Regions from separate parts of the Homo sapiens genome. Here regions 2 and 3 are each linked to region 1. Evidence: promoter capture Hi-C in human tissues and cell types (Jung and others, 2019). All regions are on one chromosome and are shown on one strand. Each heading gives the region's core, a stretch centred on a gene start or on the middle of the fragment in contact. The rest is flanking DNA. Distances are from core to core; before and after follow the strand shown.

Region 1 (2,601 bases), core at 102-2,601:
GTGTCCTAGGTTGGGGGAGGTACCCCAGCCCTGCTCACCTTGTGGGGCCCGAGCTCTAGGGCCATCACCTTGGTCAGCATGTCCAGGGCACCCTTGGTGGAGCCTACGAAGAGGAACCCAAGCTGGCTGGGGCTGGGGTCGGTGATGAGGGCGAGGCTGGGGCTGGGGTGGGGCTGAGGGCACAGCTGGGGCACTCACAGTAGACGCTATGGTTAGTTACTGCCCGCTGGGAGCACTGGCTGGAGACATTCACGATGGCCCCTGGGACTCCCCGGGCTATTAAGCCCCTGGCCACAATCTGGAATCGCAGCGAGACCGTGAGGCAGAGCTGGCATCACTCACGAGAATTCCCGTCCAGCCCACAGGGCAGCTCACCTGCGACACCTGGATGACCGCACGCAGGTTCACCTCAAAGGATCTAGAGGCCGAGGGACAGACCCTGGTCAGAGATTAGGGCTGCTGCGTCCTCCAGGACAGCCCCTCCCTGAGGTTCCTCCGCCCTCACAGGCTCACCTGTCAAAGGCCTCCTTGGTGACCTCCAGGAAGGGCTGCAGCAGGGCGACAGCGGCGTTGTTCACCAGCAGGTCCACGGGGCCCACGCTGCCCAGCGCCCGCTCGGTGGCCTCCCAGTCACCCAGGTCCACGCACACGGGTTCTATCCCCGGGCACTGTGTGTATCAGGGGGCAGTTACCAGAGGCTCTGTGCCCAGCAAGCGGCACAGCTGGGGACTGGGGCTGGTGACCTTTCAGCCGGACAAGTAAAGGAGTTAGGAGTTCCGAAGGTGTCGGGACTGTGGGGCCAGCAGCCGGGCGCTACCTCCGGCCGGTTCACTTCCTCCCTGCGCCCGAGCGACTCCTGCCCGGGGCCTGCTTCGCAGCCATTTCGGCCTCTTTCTGAGCCCGGGGGCCCCGGCGGCTCTGCCGACCACCCGGCCGCCCACGCAGGCCACCAGCCCCGAGAGAGGGTGCGCGGGCGCCCAGGCCGCGGTGAGAAGCGCAGCGCCCGCGAGGGGAGGCGGAGTCGCGCACAGAGGTACCGCCCCCGCTCGCTGCCGCCCCCTCCTGGCTCGCCGCCTCGCAGCGCTGGGACCCGGCGGGACCTACCTCGCGGACAAGGCTGTCAAGATCCGCCTGAGTCCGGCTCACAGCCACCACCCGCGCGCCCGTCGCGTGCAGCGCCTGGACCGTGCCGCGCCCTATACCTGCCGGGAGCGGGCTCAGTGAAGGCGTCCCCTGCCCGCCTCTGCCCGCCGCCGGCCTTTGCCCACCTTTCCCCGCCGCCCACCTTTGCCTGCCCCGGTGACCAGCACCCGGCGGCCCGCGAGGAACAGCTCCATGTCGGCGCAGTCTCCGCCCTCCGCACTGGGGCTGCGGAACTTGAAGCTCTGGCCACGATGGGCGGGGCGCGGCGGGGCCAATGGCAGGGCGGCCTTCAGATAGGCGGTGGGGACATTCAAATAGCTGCTCCCCGCTGCAGTGATTGGCCGAAAGGAGTGGGCGCGCCGGGGCGGGGCGGGGTCTCCGCTGCCTCAGGGACGGGTCTTTTGAAGTGCCTGGTGTGACCCATCTTCCGTGCTTGAAATCGACGTAGTGGACCCTGGCTAGCATATTTTTCCCTGCCAAGATTATTGCAAAAAGACGATGTGGTGGTTAATATCGGAAAGAATGTGTGGTTAATATCAGGAAGAACACGTGAAATGGAGAATTTCAGGGCTAACATTTCTTGTTTTGTTTCTGAAAACATCGGCATGTCCTAAAAAGTGTCGCCTGTGCCCATCATCTCTCAGGCTTGGGAGCAGGACACCGCCGGCTCACTTTAAAGCCAAGGGAAAGAATTTGGACAACCAACTACGTCTGGAGAAGACACCAATGTCAGCAGAGCTCCGCTTTCATCTGTGGGCGAAGGATTACCTAGATGCCAAGGCAAGAGACTGAAGACACAAACTGTTTCAGTATAACAAAGAAAATAGGCCGGGAGCGGTGGCTCACGCCTGTAATCCCAGCACTTTGGGAGGCCGAGGCGGGTGGATCACGAGGTCAGGAGATCGAGACCATCCTGGCTAACACGGTGAAACCCCATCTCTACTAAAAATACAAAAAATTAGCCGGGCGCGGTGGCGGGCACCTGTAGTCCCAGCTACTCAGGAGGCTGAGGCAGGAGAATGGCGCGAACCCAGGAGGCGGAGCTTGCAGTGAGCCGAGATTGCGCCACTGCACTCCAGCCTGGGCGACAGAGCAAGACTCCATCTTTAAAAAAAAAACAGTTAAAATAAAAATAGTCATAATACAAATTAGATATAAAAATGATCATGATCATGGATAATTATCAATCATTAGTATAAACATTATTAATCATTAGCTTTTAATATTACTCTTTGTTGCATTACTAATATAACCTAGGGACATTGTGAGAAGTGACCTAGAAGGCAAGAGGTGAGCCCTCTGTCACTCCCGCATAAGGGCTGCTTGAGGGCTCCTTGGTCAAGCAGTAATGCCGTTGTCTGGGAAGCCACCCGTTACTTAGAAGACTGCGAAGGGGAGTCTCCTTTCCTTGGAGGCGTCAGGGAACACTCTGCTCCACCAGCTTCTTGTGGGAGGCTG
Region 2 (3,697 bases), core at 484-2,983, 400 kb before region 1:
GTCGACGTTTCCTAAGTTTCTCCTGGGCCATATATTCATTCCACTCATCTCCAGGTTGGGAAACATGGAGGCACCAAGAGGGCCCCTGACTGGAGAGATGATGGAACCACCAGAGAACAGCCTTGCAAATAAGTGCTAGGTTCTCCTGGAGACCCATTTGTTTGTGTGTGTGAGACAGTCTCATTCTGTCGCCCAGGGTGGAGTCCAGTGACGCCACCTAGGCTCACTATGTTGTCCAGGCTGGTCTTGAACTCCTGACCTCAGGTGATCCACCCACCTGGGCTTCCCAAAGTGCTGGGATTACAGGTGTGAGTCACCGCGCCGGGCCTGGAGACCTATTCTAGACAACACCTGGCAAAACTGCAGAGACTGTCACAATGCTACAGTATGAACATTACTCTTCACCCAATACTGCTAAGCTTCCCCCAGAAATCCCAAATCTTCCTTAATATTAACCAAAATGCTCCTGTCCAATGGTCAGTTAGTTTTTTTCCCATCACATTTACTTTTGGGAAGAAACTTCTCACAACTTAACGAGGGACTGGTTTTCTGATTTGTCACTGATATTTTTTACGTTAAGGAGGAGTGTGTGACAATTTTTTTTTTTTTTTTGAGACGCAGTCTCGCTCTATAGCCCAGGCTGGAGTGCCATGGAGGGATCTCAGCTCACTGTAACCTCCACCTCCCGCGTTCAAGCAATTCTCCTGCCTCAGCCTCCCAAGTATCTGGGATTACAGTGCGCCATGACGCCCGGCTAATTTTTTGTATTTTTAGTAGAGACAAGATTTTGCCATGTTGGCCAGGATGGTCTCGAACTCCTGACCCCAGGTGATCCACCCGCCTCGGCCTCCCAAAGTGCTGACATCACAGGCGTGAGCCACTGCGCCGGGCCGACAATTTCAATTTCAGGTAAAAAGTGAAATCAACATCATTTACAACATTCCTTTTAAAGAGGAATTGTCAAGTTGTCCTTCCAAGTAAGGAGCAAAGCCGGCAAGTTACTGTGTTTTCATTTTCCCAGGTCTTCTGGTGGGGAGGGAGCTCTGTAACGTCCCCGTCTGCAGAGCTGCTCTCCTTAGTGACTCATGACAAGGCACTTGCTGGGAAGCGGGAGAGCAGGAGGAGAGAATCAGAGGGAGATTAGGATAAGAGGTGTCCCTGGCTCTGAGAGGGGCAGGACTGGCTGGGAGTCCCTGGAATTAGACCAGGAAGTCTCCTGGAGCCGGGAAACGGGTGGGGAAGGAGGGCGGTTTCTCTTCGCCACAGTCCATTCTCCCTGCTTAGAAAGGCTCGGCCTTTCCCTGCCCAGGGCGGGGAACCGGGGTCGTAAGTCCCCTGGGGAGGGACACGGACGGGAAGCAGCCGAGGGGGGTGAAAGTCCCCGAGAGGGGCCCAGCCACTACAGAGAAAGCCCTGGCGAGAGAAGAGAAAGGGGCCGAGTCGCGGCGCCGGCAGGCCCGCCTCCCCCACAGGCCGAGGCCGGCAAATCTGCTGCCTCATCCCGGCGTCCCCGCTCCCGCCCGGCCGCCGCACTCACGATGCTCTCGGCCATGGCGGCTGCTCCTGCCTCCGGGCTCGAGCCCCGGGCCGCCGCCGCCTGCCGCCCCAAGGGCCTCGCAGACCCGGCCGCGGCCTCAGCCCCGGCCCCGGCCTCCCTACGCCGCCGCCACCGCCGCTCCAGCTTCGCCCGCCCGGCTCCGCCAGCCGCCGACGTCCCGGTGCCTCGCTCAATACGCTCCCCTCGGGCGCGAGGCCGGGAAACCAGGTTCCGGCCCCACCAACGGCTCGACGCATGCGCAGGGCGGCGCCGCTGACCCGCCCCCGCCATCCCTGCAACTGGAGGAGGGGATTTTGGAAAGTTGCGTCTGAGATTACTTCTGCTCGTCCTCGGAAACCCAAGCGGCACAGGAAAGTCCAAAAAGGAAGCAAAGACGAGCATCCGAAGTCTCACCCAAAAATAACTACTGCTGCGTATTATAGCGTATTATAATTGGGGAAACAGCATTCCAAACTTCTCTCCATGCACAGGTAAGTAGAGAAACAATTTCAGGAAGGCAGGATCACACCTTCATGTTTTTTTTTTTAAGTATTTTTTAAATTTAACATAAGAAAAACAAACGAGTTTAAACTGCATTTCAGGCCGGGCGCGGTGGCTCATACCTGTAATCCCAGCATTTTGGGAAGCCAAGGTGGACGGATCACCTGAGGTCAAAAGTTCGAGACCAGCCTGGCCAAAATGGTGAAACCCCGTCTCTACTCAAAATACAAAATTAGGCCATACGCGGTGGCTCACGCCTGTAATCCCAGCACTTTGGGAGGCCGAGGCAGGTGGATCACCTGAGGTCAGGAGTTCAAGACCAGCCTGACCAACGTGGTGAAACCCCGTCTCTACTAAAAATACAAAAATTAACTGGGCGTGGTGGCGGGCACCTGTAATCCCAGCTACTCGGGAGTCTGAGGCCGGAGAATCTCTTGAAGCGAAGAGGCGGAGGTTAGAATGAACTGAGTTGGTGCCACTGCACTCCAGTCTGGGCGACAGAGTGAGACTTCATCTCAAAAAAAAAAAAAAAAGACGTCACTTCACAGATTCTAAGGATTTTTGGAGTTGGATACCAGGAAACCGGAAGACTAAATGTATACATATTTCACAACATCACAATTACTGTGACAGTTTTTTTAAACTATGTTAAATTACATTAATTGATTAAATTATGTTAGTAATTGTATTAGTTTGCTCAGGGTGCCACTGTAACTACCCAACATATTGTCCCTGCCCACTGCCTAGACTTTATCAAGACAGGGGAATTGCAATAAAGAGTTTAATTCACACAGAGCCAGCTTGTACAGGTTACTGAGGTTTTATTACTACTCAAAAAAAATTAGTGTCCTTGAGAATTCAGGGATCAGAGTTTTTTGTTTTTTGTTTTTTTTTGTTTTTGAGTCCGAATCTCACTCTGTCACCCACACTGGAGTGCAGTGGCGCGATCTCGGCTCACTGCAACCTTCACCTCCTGGGTTCCAGTGATTCTCCTGCCTCAGCCTCCCGGGTAGCTGGGACTACAGGCGCACACTACCATGCCTGGCTAATTTTGTATTTTTCGTAGAGACGGAGTTTCTCCATGTTGGTCAGGCTGGTCTTGAACTCCTGACCTCAGGTGATCCGCCCACCTGGGCCTCCCCAAAGTGCTGGGACTATAGACGTGAGCCACCGTGCCCGGCTGGGGATCCGCGGTTTTAAGGATAATTTGGTGGGTATGGGGTCAGAAAGTAGGGAGTGTTGATTGGTTGGGTCAGAGGTGAAATGATAGGGAGTCAAAACTGTCCTCTTGTGCTGAGTCGGTTCCTGGGTGGGGGCCACAAGATATGAGCCAGTTTATCAATCTGGGTGGTGCCAGCTGATCCATGGAGTGCAGAGTCTGCAAAATATCTCAAGCGCTGATCTGTTTTTTAATAGTGATGTTATCCTGAGAAGCAATTTGGGAGGTTTAGAATCTTGTAGCCTCCAGCTACATGACTCCTAAACCATAATTTCTAATCTTATGGCTAATTTGTTAGTCCTGAAAAGGCAGTCTTGTCCCCAGGTAGGAAGGGAGTTTGTTTTGCAAAGGGCTGTTACCATCTTTGTTTCAAAGCTAAACTATAAACTAAGCGCCTCCCGAAGTTATTTCAGCCTACACCCAGGAATGAACAAGGACAG
Region 3 (2,723 bases), core at 224-2,723, 330 kb before region 1:
GAGGTGGCAGGAATGGGGACCCTCACCCCCCAAGCAGCCTGTGCCCTCTGGCCGCACTGTGAGCTGGCTGTGGTGTCTGGGTGTGGCCTGGGGCTCCCTCTGCAGGGGCCTCTCTCGGCAGCCACAGCCAAGGGTGGAGGCTTCAGGTCTCCAGCTTCTCTGCTTCTCAGCTGCCATCTCCAGTGCCCCAGAATGGTACAGCGATAATAAAATGTATTTCAGAAAGCATCAGCGTTTTTTCTTTAATTAATTTTTTTGAGATGGAGTCTCACTCTGTCACCCAGGCTGGAGTGGTGATCTCCGCTCACTGCAAGCTCCGCCTCCTGGGTTCAAGCGATTCTCGGGCCTCAGCCTCCCGAGTAGCTGGACTACAGGTGCACCCCATTACCATGCCTGGCTAGTTTTTGTATTTTTAGTAGCGACGGTGTTTCACCATGTTGGCCAGGCTGGTCGTGAACGCCTAACCTCAGGTGATCCACCTGCCTCGGGCTCCTAAAGTGCTGGGATTACAGGCATGAGCCACCGCGCCCGACCTGCATCAACGTTTGCTCAGGGGGCAGGTGGTCAGGCTGATGGCCCAGCTGCAGGCAGGGTCATTTCCAGCCTGCCCCTCCCTGAGGCTGCGTGCCAGGGTTCATGTGTGCCCTCCGCGGCTCTGCACTGACCCCGCCGGTAGCTGGGGAGGAGTTTGGGCTTGGCGCCTCCTTCGTGTAGTGGCTGAAGCTTCCCGGGTGCTCCTCATTCCTGGGAAGGGAGTCGGGTGATGGGAACGGTGGGAGCTCAGCGCTCCGAGTCTGCGGCCGGGGGCCAGCGGGGCTGAAACGCGCCTCCTGAGTGTTGAAAGCGGCAGGCGCCGGCCTTTGCACCCAGAGGCCAGGGCGTCTCACTCACCTTCACATCCAGGCCTCTTAGGGGAGCGCGGCTTTGGCTTTTCCAGGAAGGAATGGACTCCAACGGACAGGGAAAGAAGAAGTGTGGAGAGACGGGCAGGATAAGCAGGCACTGGGCCCAAGCCGCCCTTGGAGGCTCTGCCTGTTCTGATCTGAAGGCGGAGGCTCAGCCGTGCTCTCCCAGGAAGCCACCTGGGCGTTTGGGGCTTTAGCTAGGAAAGAGGATGTCGCCTGCGGCTGCGAAGGCGCCAAAGCCCAGACCTCGCGCCTCCGCCCGCGACGGCGGCACTGGGGGCCCGGAGCGGGCGGGAGACGTGGATTACTGCGGGCTTCGGGGCCCTAGCCTCGACCGCGACGTTCGCTCGCATCGCGTACGGACAGAAACCCGTGAGCGCTGAAGAAAGAACACCTGAATCCGGAGCCCCAGCCCCCGTCGCTCGTTTGCGCGACCCCAAAACCTGGCGGGACGAGGGTCGCCCGATGTCTAGCTGCCGCCACAGACGACGCTTTTGCGTCTGCGCAGCGCGCCGCCTTGTGGGTAATCTCAGGGTGAGACGAGGCTAGCGCGAGGTACGGCTAGAGCGTCATTTCCGGCTCGAATGCCCGGCAGCCGTGGCGGCTAGAGCGTTCCTCCCCAGCTCGAATGCCCGGCGGCCGAGGCGGCTAGAGCGTCGCCTCCTCCCGGGGAACCGCGTGTGACCTTCCAGCCCGCGGACCGATGCTGCCGGCGGCCGCTCGCCCCCTGTGGGGGCCTTGCCTTGGGCTTCGGGCCGCTGCGTTCCGCCTTGCCAGGTACGCGGGATCCTGGGGCGGTCCGGGCCGGCAGGCGGGTTAGGGGGCAGCCGGGCACTGAGGGGTCGATCCGGGCGAGGAGGGCGGCGGGGCCGGCCTCCCTGCAGCGGCCAGGCCGGGCTTGGGGGTCCCATCGGGGGCGCGGGGAGGAGGCCTCCCGGTGCGCACGCCCCTTCCCTCCTGGGCCGTGGAAAGCGCCGGGGTCGGCCCCAGATGACCTTGGACGATTCCCTGCTCCTCCCTTGGCCTCAGCCTTTTCCGCAGCAAAGGCCCATCCGTGGGTGCGGCGTTTTGCGGCCAGGGGCCCCCATGTTTTGGGAGGCTTTGCGCAGGAAGATGCACCTAAGTAATAGTTTCGCCACCGCTGGGTTGATGTAGTTCATTCAAACCAGAAACTTGAGGTTTGAGTGGTATGGCTGCAAATAAACACGTGGCTTTCTAAGGCTCTTTGAAGAATTTAAAGTAACTTGCAAATCTTATCAATACGGACCCCTTGAGGTCTGAGAACCCTGGACTGGGACCAAGGAGCTAGGTAATTTCCGGCCCTAGTGATTACCAGCCTGAGCTTATGGCACCCACCAGTCCCCCAGTTGTCCTGCCCCTCTGGTTTCTGCAGCCCCTTCCATTCCAGGACTGACAAGTCTGTTTTAATTGGGGGTGGGGGCTAGGCGACAGGTGCCATGTGTCTGTGCCGTGCGACATATGAGGAGCAGCGGCCATCAGAGGTGTGAGGCCCTCGCTGGTGCACCCCTGGATAACGCCCCCAAGGAGTACCCCCCCAAGATACAGCAGCTGGTCCAGGACATCGCCAGCCTCACTCTCTTGGAAATCTCAGACCTCAACGAGCTCCTGAAGGTATCGTGAGAGGGTGGCACAGACCCAGGGGCTGGAAGTTTCAGGGCCCCTGTGTTTTGTTCCTGGTGTATTTTGGGAGTTTGGTAAATTGTCAAAAGTGTGTTTGTCCAGGTGCAAGGTCCATGCCAGGCTAGTTGCCCCTCCTCAGTAGGTTCCGGCTGGTGTGAGGGCCAGCTGTGGACACTG

Evidence for each region. Contacts are between HindIII fragments. The study calls those that stand out against the background at their distance.
Region 2: the fragment with the promoter of NPLOC4 here is called in contact with the fragment with the promoter of DCXR in region 1 in 1 of the 25 tissues and cell types used here (mesenchymal stem cells).
Region 3: the fragment with the promoter of MRPL12 here is called in contact with the fragment with the promoter of DCXR in region 1 in 2 of the 25 tissues and cell types used here (lymphoblastoid cells and mesendoderm cells).

What each region holds. Positions count from the first base shown.
Region 1 is chr17:82,036,346-82,038,946 of GRCh38, forward strand. DCXR (dicarbonyl and L-xylulose reductase) reads right to left here and starts at 1,352. Exons shown (of 8, transcript NM_016286.4): 1 at 1,286-1,352; 2 at 1,105-1,202; 3 at 514-668; 4 at 376-418; 5 at 199-298; 6 at 39-103. The coding sequence starts at 1,337. DCXR-DT (DCXR divergent transcript) reads left to right here and starts at 1,573. Exons shown (of 2, transcript NR_159948.1): 1 at 1,573-1,923. RefSeq lists a silencer at 743-1,572. The HindIII fragment of the contact is 8,854 bases long and covers 1-2,601 here.
Region 2 is chr17:81,635,379-81,639,075 of GRCh38, forward strand. It overlaps NPLOC4 (NPL4 homolog, ubiquitin recognition factor), which reads right to left and starts at 1,734. Exons shown (of 17, transcript NM_017921.4): 1 at 1,538-1,734. The coding sequence starts at 1,552. It overlaps TSPAN10 (tetraspanin 10), which reads left to right and starts at 1,818. Exons shown (of 4, transcript NM_001290212.2): 1 at 1,818-2,028. RefSeq lists a silencer at 1,464-1,673. The HindIII fragment of the contact is 41,196 bases long and covers 1-3,697 here.
Region 3 is chr17:81,701,894-81,704,616 of GRCh38, forward strand. MRPL12 (mitochondrial ribosomal protein L12) reads left to right here and starts at 1,474. Exons shown (of 5, transcript NM_002949.4): 1 at 1,474-1,682; 2 at 2,351-2,537. The coding sequence starts at 1,609. It overlaps HGS (hepatocyte growth factor-regulated tyrosine kinase substrate), which reads left to right. Exons shown (of 22, transcript NM_004712.5): 22 at 1-228. RefSeq lists enhancers at 354-957, 902-971, 958-1,561 and a silencer at 1,462-1,841. The HindIII fragment of the contact is 19,787 bases long and covers 1-2,723 here.